Regions from separate parts of the Homo sapiens genome. Here all the other regions are linked to region 2. Evidence: promoter capture Hi-C in human tissues and cell types (Jung and others, 2019). All regions are on one chromosome and are shown on one strand. Each heading gives the region's core, a stretch centred on a gene start or on the middle of the fragment in contact. The rest is flanking DNA. Distances are from core to core; before and after follow the strand shown.

What was found. The method cuts DNA at HindIII sites, captures the fragments that hold promoters and counts their contacts. A contact is called where the count stands out against the background at its distance.
Region 1: a contact is called between a fragment that was not itself captured here and the fragment with the promoter of KCNE4 in region 2, in 1 of the 25 tissues and cell types used here (mesenchymal stem cells).
Region 3: a fragment that was not itself captured here is called in contact with the fragment with the promoter of KCNE4 in region 2 in 1 of the 25 tissues and cell types used here (mesenchymal stem cells).

What each region holds. Positions count from the first base shown.
Region 1 is chr2:223,700,522-223,703,999 of GRCh38, forward strand. No RefSeq gene overlaps it. Among named protein-coding and RNA genes, the nearest start is that of SCG2, 100 kb to the left of the region's middle. The HindIII fragment of the contact is 4,357 bases long and covers 1-3,478 here.
Region 2 is chr2:223,050,659-223,054,189 of GRCh38, forward strand. KCNE4 (potassium voltage-gated channel subfamily E regulatory subunit 4) reads left to right here and starts at 1,532. Exons shown (of 2, transcript NM_080671.4): 1 at 1,532-1,616; 2 at 2,150-3,531. The coding sequence starts at 2,173. The coding sequence ends at 2,685. RefSeq lists an enhancer at 1,840-2,387. The HindIII fragment of the contact is 5,924 bases long and covers 1-2,617 here.
Region 3 is chr2:223,626,848-223,630,315 of GRCh38, forward strand. No RefSeq gene overlaps it. Among named protein-coding and RNA genes, the nearest start is that of SCG2, 26 kb to the left of the region's middle. The HindIII fragment of the contact is 4,424 bases long and covers 1-3,468 here.

The sequences.
Region 1 (3,478 bases), core at 326-2,825, 650 kb after region 2:
CCTCTATTCATTTGTTCATTTGCTTCTTTTACCACCAAAACATAGGATGAAATTTTCTACTGGTTTTAACTTAATTTTCATCCCAAGTTAGTGCAACTGGTGTATGTATGAAGCCGTAGCTGCATAACCCGGGTAGGACTGAAGCCAGGAACATCAGTGCCCAATCTTAGCTGCCCTGCAGAGCCCAGCTGAGGGGAACGTGCCAGGGTGATTTGATCGTTTAGTCTGCTGAATTATCTGTCAGAATTTTTCAGAATGGAGCTACAAGTGAGGGGTACTGTTTATAAAGAGGAAACAGCCTCCATAAGCAAGTATTAATTCCATGATGAGGAAGCAACCCCAAAAGGTAGAAATATTGGCTGGGCGCCGTGGCTTATGCCTGTAATCCCAGCACTTTGGGGGGCCAAGGTGGGTGGATCACCTGAGATCAGGAGTTCAAGACCAGCCTGGCCAACATGGCAAAACCTCATCTCTACTAAAAATACAGAAATTAGCCGGATGTGATGGCGGGCGCCTGTAGTACCAGCTACTCGGGAGGCTGAGGCAGGAGAATTGCTTGAACCCAAGAGGCAGAGGTTGCAGTGAGCTGAGATCATGCCACTGCACTCCAGCCTGGGTGACATAGCAAGACTCTGTCTCAAAAAAAAATAAAATAAAATAAAATAAAACAAAAGAGGTAGAAATATTTAATTAAGGTGCCTATTTCTAGTAGTAAGTACTTATAGAACATTTACCATGTGCCAGATACATTGTCATTTAAGGTACCTTACATATATGGACTCAATCTTCAACCACATAAGAGTGCCATTGTTTTATTTATTTATTTATCTATTTATTTTTATTTATTTTGAGACAGGGTCTCACTCTGTCGCCCAGGCTGGAGTGCAGTGGCACCAAGCAATTCTCCTGCCTCAGCCTCCCAAGTAACTAGGGTTACAGGTCCGTGCCACCATGCCAGGCTAATTTTTGTATTATTAGTGGAGACAGGGTTTCACCATGTTGGCCAGGCTGGTCTCAAACTCCTGACCTCAGGTGATCCTCCCCCCTCCACCTCCCAAAGAGCTGGGATTATAGGCGTGAGCCACTGCACACGGCCTGAGGATACCATTATTATTATCTCCATATTAAGAATGAAGAGATTAAAAGTCAGAGGTTAAGTAAATTGCCAATGTCACACAGCTGGAAAGTGGCGCTGCCAGTATTTCAAGTCTAGTTCAGAGTCTGTGCTCTTAACCAGTATGTTGTACTGCCATTTATAGACAATAAAGGAAAGTTCTACTTATTGATGAAGTGTATTTCTAGAAATGGGGTCAGAAAACCTTACAGTTAAAAGCACCACTTTTTTCTATAATCTCCATGTAGTCAGCAGTTACTCTAGGTGGTGATCTTAATTGGAAAGGAACAATACAGATTTAAATTTAAACCAGAAGAAACTGACGAGTCAGCTGCTCAAGCAGACAAATGGAATGAGACTATATGGGCAGCATCAGATATATCAACCAGAGAAATTCAGGGTAGCAAGAATTAGAGACTGCCTGTCACAGAAACAAGTATATACTGGGCTCCCTACTCTGGATTGCTATGGCAACAAGCTATATACACCAGATGATTTAGCAATTGGTATAAATTGTCTCAGGTTGTTCAAAACATTTCATCTTCTCTTCCCAATAACATAGTAACTTATCCAAAGTTTGAACTTGTATTGTCCTTGGGTATCTCCCAACATATTCCATCCATTGTTAAAATCAAAATGGTATTTAACACATTTGTTCTTTATGAATTTCATTTTCCATAATATTCTTTTATTATATAACAATTAATATACATAATCACAAAAGCGAGATGCATTTTTTTTTTTTTTTGATACAGAGTCTCGGTCTATCACCCAGGCTGGAGTACAGGGGTGTGACCTTGGCTCACTGCAACCTCCGCCTCCTAGGTTCAAGCTATTCTCCTGCCTCAGCTTCCTGAGTAACTGGGATTACAAGCACCTGCCACCACACCCGGCTAATAACAATATGCATTCTTGATAGCAATTTAAGAATTAAAGTATGCACACACAAAAATTACTTATTTTATCACTATACTTATGCTTTGGTTTGTCTTCTGTCTCCCTCTCAGTGTCTCTCAAGATTGTCATGAGATTTGAATGAGATAGCATGCAAAGTACACAGTACCGTGACTCGCATCAAGTGTTCAAGAAATGGAAGTTATTATTAAGGTAGTGATTACTATTTTTATTTTATGTATTTCTGAAGGGAAGATTTCTAAAAGTAAAATTGTTCCTTAGGCAGGGTGCGGTGGCTCACGCCTGTAATCTCAGCACTTTGGGAGGCCAAGGCAGGCAGATCATGAGGTCAAGAGATTGAGACCATCCTGGCTAACACAGTGAAACCCCGTCTCTACTAAAAAGCACAAAACAATTAGCCGGGCGTGGTGGCAGGCGCCTGTAGTCCCAGCTACTCGGGAGGCTGAGGCAGGAGAATGGCGTGAACCCAGGAGGCCAAGCTTGCAGTAAGCCAAGATCACACCACTGCACTCCAGCCTGGGCAACAGAGCAAGACTCCATCTCAAAGAAAAAAAAAATTGTTCTTTAGAGAGCATGCACATTTTAAATTTTACCAGTAACTGACAAAGTTCCCTCAATTTACCATTTGGGAAATTTACCAATTTCCCATACCAACTCACATTCCCACACAGTATAAGACCTTTCCCCACATCTAAATACTAAATACTATCAACGCTTATGTTTTCACTAGTTTGGGTGAAACATGATAATTCAGTTTAATTTGTATTTCTATTTGTGAGTGAATTAAGCATCTTTTTATGATCATTATTATTAGACATTTGGTGCAGTGGGATTCTGTTCAAATCCTTTCTTCATTTTTTGTATTGGGTTATTTTTCTTCTCTCACTGATTTTTAATAGCACCTTCTATTTCGTGGGTGTTCATTCTCTGTCTCCATCTGCAAATATTTTCTCCAGTTTTCTCAAAGTCTTTTAACTATGTTCATGGTATATTTTATGATTCTAAAATTTAAAAATTGTATGTATTCAAATACATCAATATTTCCCTTTATGGTTTCTGTGTTTGAGGCTTTTCCTGGGAAGGTCTTCCCCATTTCAATATTTATAAAAATATTTCCCTACTGTTTTATTATTTTAGCATACTAATACAATTGTTTAATATATCTGGAGTGGATGTGTATGTGCCTGTGAGATAAAGCTCTGCGTTTTTAATTTTGTGGCTCTCCATTCGTACCTATTAACACTGGTCAAATTTTAGAGTTCTTCCTTTTATTACAATACAAAATGTTATATGTAATCCAAGAAATAATACTAGGAGCCAAAATCTGTATAAGATTCTACAAACAGGCTGGGTGCAGTGGCTCATGCCTGTAATCCCAACACTTTGGGAGATCAAGGCAGGCAGATCACTTGAGGTCAGGAGTTCAAGACCAGCCTGGCCAACATGGCG
Region 2 (3,531 bases), core at 282-2,781:
TTTATGATGGACACCTGTTGAAAAGACCAAGTCTACCATGGCTGAGGTAGCTATGGAGGGTTTTACGTATTAACACAATGGTGAGGGTATCTTTACTGGTGTGAGCACAGTTCCACTGTATGGATGATCGTGATGCTGGAGTGGTCGATGGTTGGTACCTCCAGTGCCAGCTGGGGATTTATGGATGAACACAGGTGAGTAGTCAAGTGGGAAAAATGGCAGCATTCAGTTCATCTTCCTATTCTTCCTCCAGGTGTCTTCTTAGAATCAGGATCAGGTGCAAACCCAGGGGGGTTCCTGTAGCAGCAGTGAAAATTCCAGTGCCTAAGCTATATATGTTCAAGCAGGTCAGGTGGATGTCGCATGCGTCAGTTTGACTACAGCAGAACCATGAGAGATGTTTCCTTTAGAGTTGGCCCACAAGACAGTCTGGCTGCAATCCACAGGCCACAGACAACTGGAGGGAGTGGATCTCTCCCAGTTTCCTTCCACTTAGCATGAAAGCCTCAGAATAAGCAGCCCAGGGAGCAGAGAGACTGACATTAAAGCCTGCAATTCCTCTTCCAATTTTGATCACAGCAGCCATTTAAACACAGGGTCTACCGAGGTTTAAAAAACTTGAACTGTGCTTAGTTGCACTCTGAAATAGTCCTGCTCCTCCCCTGACCTACGAGAGACAGCAAAGAGACGTGTCAATAGCCTCCGCATGAGGCTTCAGAGGAGCAGCTGTGTATGGCAGGACGGAACAAAACCTGCCCATAGTATCTTTTACGACAACATGTTTCCACTTAATGCAGACCACTGAAAAGAATGTGGGAGCTTTTAAAAAAAAATTATTATAAACATAGGTTTGTGACCTTGATGTGGAAGGCAGCTAGAATCTCTGCTTTTAGAGGGCTAAGCAACACCAGGCAGCCTTCAATCTTAGAAGGGTTAAGCTGAAAGGGTCTCAAAAGGTCACGTGGTTTATATAATCCTACCTGCAGAAGACCCCCCCCCCCGCCAGGCACAACGATTTTACAGACGAGGAATGTGAGGTGCGGAGAGGTTAAGGAAGGATTTATCTTATTTGCATAAGGAGTGGAAGAACTGAAACCGAAGCCCCAGTTCCTTGACTGTAAATCCCGCACTTGCTTCCAACTGTCTTTCATCCAGATTATGGGATTCAGCTGCCTCTGAAAACCTGTAGCCCAATAATGGTTATTCCCCAGGAGCCGCGCGAAGCATGAGCTAATTTTCAGTGAGCGCGGACTTTGGGGTAACGGTTCCAGCACAGCACATCCCTTTCTCCTCTTTTCACTCATCGTCACCGCTACCTGAAAACCCTGGCCGGGTGCTGGGGCTTGAGGAGCAGTTCCCACTTCCCAGTCTTTTTCACTTTTCACAGCTGCAAAGTTCAGGGAGTTGAACTGCAGTGCTTTCAGTTCACTGCTCACTCTGCCACGATCAATCTCTGTTGTAAATTTTCCTCCCAGAGCACGTGACGATGCACTTCTTGACTATATATCCCAACTGCAGCAGCGGAGTTGTCAGAGCGCAGAGCCGGACAGAGCAGAAGAACCCTCTTGGACTGGACGATTTGGGAATTCAAAACTTGGGACAAACTGTCAGCCTTGGTAAGTCAGCAAGGCTACACTTTGCTTTCAGAAACATTTGAAAGAGGGACATTTTTGCCAATTAATAGATGAATTTTTTTCCTTTATTTTCTTCCTGCTTTTCTTTGTTCTAAGGAAACATTGTTTTGAATTTAAAATAGTTTGGTTTTGGAAACACAATGTAAACTTTGTTTCTGCTCAGTTAAAATACGTTTCCCAGTTTTAAAGATACTATTTACTGTATGCTCCTGTCTTACATTGATTTTTTTTTTAATCAAAGTAATACTGCTCACTACAAACAGGACAAATGTGTACACTAAAAAAAAAAAAAAAAGTCCTTCTTACTTTTCCCAGTGAACCTTCCCGGGCTTCTCTCCCGTGCACTCCAAGCCCTCATAGCTCACTCTTGTCAGCTGTTTGGCGAACCCTCTTATGCTATTTCTTTCATGCACTTTTAAGCTTTTTTGGTATTGCAGTTCCACAAACCTCGTGCTCCCCCACCTCCCTGTGCCCAGGACCTGGGGGAGAGTTCTAACCTGCGGCTTTTTCCCCAGCCCCTGCTGTGGAGGCAGCCTCAATGCTGAAAATGGAGCCTCTGAACAGCACGCACCCCGGCACCGCCGCCTCCAGCAGCCCCCTGGAGTCCCGTGCGGCCGGCGGCGGCAGCGGCAATGGCAACGAGTACTTCTACATTCTGGTTGTCATGTCCTTCTACGGCATTTTCTTGATCGGAATCATGCTGGGCTACATGAAATCCAAGAGGCGGGAGAAGAAGTCCAGCCTCCTGCTGCTGTACAAAGACGAGGAGCGGCTCTGGGGGGAGGCCATGAAGCCGCTGCCTGTGGTGTCGGGCCTGAGGTCGGTGCAGGTGCCCCTGATGCTGAACATGCTGCAGGAGAGCGTGGCGCCCGCGCTGTCCTGCACCCTCTGTTCCATGGAAGGGGACAGCGTGAGCTCCGAGTCCTCCTCCCCGGACGTGCACCTCACCATTCAGGAGGAGGGGGCAGACGATGAGCTGGAGGAGACCTCGGAGACGCCCCTCAACGAGAGCAGCGAAGGGTCCTCGGAGAACATCCATCAGAATTCCTAGCACCCCCGGGACCCCTGCCGGTGGCTCCATCAGCCAGCAACCTTAGAGAGAGGAAAGACAGTTTTCAAGTGTCTGGTTTCACTTTCACAGTGCGGCTGCCACTTTGAAGAGACCCTTGGTAAACCCCTGATTCGGGGTGGGGTGGGGGACTAGGCTCAGCCGGAACCAGCACCTCCAAGGAGTCCGGGAGGTGCCTGTGGTTTGCACCCACCACTGAAAAAGCCGCGGAGATGCGCAGCGCGTACACTGACTTTGGGGCCTGGGTGTTGGGGTTCTGATCAGAATTTGGCGGGATGATATGTTTGCCATTTTCTCACTGGATGCCCTGGGTAGCTCCTGCAGGGTCTGCCTGTTCCCAGGGCTGCCGAATGCTTAGGACACGCTGAGAGACTAGTTGTGATTTGCTATTTTGCCTAGAGCTTTGTCCTTCTAGATCTGATTGGCTGTAAGTATCTCTACTGTGTACCTGTGGCATTCCTTCACAGTGGGTTACAAGCTTCTTTTGGATTAGAGGGGGATTTTTGATGGGAGAAAGCTGGAGATCTGAACCCAGCCCATTTGCACACTATAAGAAAAAAAAGTAACTTTTAAACCTGTTAACATTGGCCGGGGTTATAAGAGATGATCTTCTATTTTGACCTTTTGTCTAACTTATGACCTTGAACTCTGACCTGTGACCATGCAGCATCACATGATGGCATGACGTTCTTTGGATCAGAAGAGCTTCCCCAGAATCTAACCTGCACTCCCGATGGTGGTTCAGGAGACTCTTCCTGATCTTTCTAGAAGGGGTAAAGTGGGGTTGAACAAGGCCAAGCCGTTAGCTCTGCTGCTGCTCAGTTTCCC
Region 3 (3,468 bases), core at 728-3,227, 580 kb after region 2:
AAAAGAGAAAGGAAATTTGACCACAGATATGCACACAGGGAGAATGCTGTGGGAACAGGAAGGCAGAGATTAGGGTGATGTAGCAGGAGCTGAGCAATAGCAACCACCACCAGCAAACCACAAAAAGCAGGGGAGAGGCCGGGAGCACTTTTCTCCCTGACAGCTACAGCCCTCAGAAGGAGCTGGTCCTGCTGACACCTTGATCTTGAGCTCGTATCCTCTAGAGCTGTGAGACAAATTCCTGCTGTTTAACTCCTCCACTTTATAATACATTTTTACAGCAGCAAGAGGAAGGGGAAGGAGTGGCACCATCTGGCACCTCTGTAGAGCTTTGTAGAATTTGTTCAGGTTAAGGAATTCATTCTGGAATTTTGGTTAGAGGGTTCTAAATATCTGGGTATGACAATGTACCATAAAGGATATGTTTCCTCTCAACACTTCTAGACAGTAGTGGGGGTTGGTTCAAGGTATGTCCCAGGAAGTTGGGTGCATACATGTGTACTTCTCCCTGTGCAGTCAGCCCAAATACCTCATGGCTGAAGGACAAGGTGTTTGGCTAGAGGAGGGTGCTGCTGAAGATGCTGGTCACCCAACAACCAAATATCCTTCCTATGTGAAGAAATCCCCAAATAGGTAGGAGGCAAGCTTGGGAAGGAGCCGCACTTTGCAAAAAAAAAAAAAAAGGTATGAGATATTTCTCAACTTTGCGCCCTGACATCTGGGATTGGGCCATGTAACTGAGGCTTAGCCAATCAGGTGCTCCCAGTCAGCACTTTGACTCTTGGTGAGTGTTTCCATGAAGGAGGAACAAAGGCTGTCAAAGATGTGGAACAGGGTCCAGTGGCATGGTGACAAGCGTCTCTCTGGGAAGATGCCAATGATAACTACCCACACCAACTAGTATAATGAGGTAACTTTGCCTTGACCTTATCTTCCAAACTCCCCTACTGTTGCCCATTTGTCAAGTCTGCCCCTCTAGCCTTTTATTGTTGGAAAGAGCTGCCTTCCACTAATTGCTGCCAAAGTTATCCCATTGGTATGTGTTGCTTGAAACTAAGGACATTGACTGGTACAGTGACTTCTCCATTCCACCCATGTGAGACCTCAACACTGGGAAACATGAGTCTCTCCAGCTTCTGGGTATTCAGCCATCTGGACCCTAAGAGAGCTCCGTCCCTCTGCTATGCATCCTGGGCACCTTCTGCATGACTACTGCATCTGCTGTTTTGCTTTTCCAGCATGACTGTGAGCTCTTTATGAGACAAGAACAAGCTACTGTTTGGCTTTGGAACCACAGACCCAATCATCTCAGTAGTACATGATAAATGGTGTCTGTTTGTTTGGTTTTTTTCAACATGCTTAGTAATGGAGTGGTCTCTCATCTACCCCAAACCTCTTTCTCCCATTTGAGGACTTGAGAATAGGAAAATGGTTTAGAGAAAATCTAGGAGCAGCAGACAAAATAGAACAACCGGGAGCCTCAGGGTTTCCCCAGTGCTCAGACACCACACTCAAGATGATGCCAGTTGTACCTTCCTTAGACTGGTTTTCCTGCCCCTGGGTCAGTATTTTTTTTTTAACTTTTGATTACTTACACATTAGCATCCACCATTCCTGTCACTTTTCTGTAACTGAAAGCTTAATGTATCATATTGTTCTAAATTCTCTTTTTTTGACCTAATTAACTAGACTCTCCAAAGGCAGTGGTAGGCCTTCAGGGGACTCTTGCTTGAAGCTCCCTCAAGCATTCCAAAATCATGTGGGTACACTAAAGTACCTTCACACACATGGGATTTTTGTTTATTTGTTTTTTACCCCTCTTGGACTTCCATTTCTCCAGTTCTTCTTTGGTTCCCAGAAACTCCATCTCCAGCAGGCAATATGACTTAATTAAGGATATTTGTCTACAAGCTTTAAGTAAGCTTTTCTAATTGCAACAGTTTCGCATTACTTTTGTTCGCATTGATAAGTTATTTAAACACCATGAATAATTCAATATCAGGTTCTGAATTGTTAATCAGAATAATGAGAGCAGCAGTTCAGCACTCTTTAATAATTTGATTTGCAGTGGGTATGAAAAAGGCCTTAAACTTGAGGCTTTGCTCTCAGAGCAAAACAATAAATATCCAAAATAGAAGCTTTGCTGCTCCACAAAGACAGCCTTTTCCCTCCTAATCAGTACTGTCTATGTATGTGTTGATTGCTTTGGATGCAGTGACACAGTGGGGACCTGTGTCACTCCATGGGTATATTTCACAACTGCAAATATCTTTGCATGCCCCCTCACTTTGATTTGCAATCTGTCGGTTAGAAACCTGCCACTAAGAGACAATGTAAAAGCTCCTTTCGCCTAAGGACTGTCAAATAGGCAGAATTTAATAAGTGTCCCATTCAAGGAAAAATTAAGGTTTGCTCTTTATGCAAGCTATCCTTTGCTTCACCTGTGTGTCTTGGTAGATGACACTTATGAATCTGTAACTCCAGCTGCCATCTCTCAAAACAATCTCTGCTTTTGCAAGCCCAAAGGGCCACACGGATGTCCATCATCACCACACGTCCACAGTATAACTGATTCCCTGTAGCTCAGTTTCCTTTCCAAATGCCTTGCTTGATGCCGAGGATGCAGCCTAGCACAGTGGTTAAAAGCACATCAGTGGTGTCTTCCTCCCCAGGTATAAATCATGGTTTTCTACTTCCAGCTGTGTGACCTTAACAGGCTACTTAGACTCTCTGTGCTTCATCTGTAAAAATGGACATGATAACACTAGTACCTACTTCACAGAGTTACCACGAGGATTAAATGAGTTTGCATTTTGAAAGCACTAAGACCAGTTTCTGACACATAACAAGCCTTCTAAAAGTGCTTGTTGAAGAAAATGCTGTTCCACCCCTGGTTGGCATCCAGTAACTATCCTCTCTCCATCTTTCTTTGCCTGGTTCATGCTCTGCTTCCCCCATGAACCTCTTCTTTATGACATCAGTACACAGTGATCTCTCTCTTTCTCGGTTGCAAAAAACACATGGAGTGGATGGAGTTCTGTTTCCTAATTGGCACATATCCACTATATTTATTTTGTGTCCCAATGATTTAGGGGCTTTTTAATTGTTTTTTAAATTTAAGATGTACAACATGATATTTTGATACGCATATACATAGTGAAATGATTACTACCAATGAACAATTTAACATGCCCATCATCTTCCATAGTTACCTCATGTGTGTGTGTGTATGTGTGTGTGTGTGTGTGTGTGTGTGTGTGTGTATGTGGCAACAGTACTTCAAATCTACTCTCTTAGCAAATTATATATATGAGTATGAATTTATATACATAATATATATAATTTATATAATATATATCTACTGTATATACTGTATATATATATTTTAAACAGGGTCCTGCCCTGTCTCAGGCTGGAGTGCAGTGGTGCCATCTCTACTCACTGCAGCCTTTGACCACCTAAGCTCAA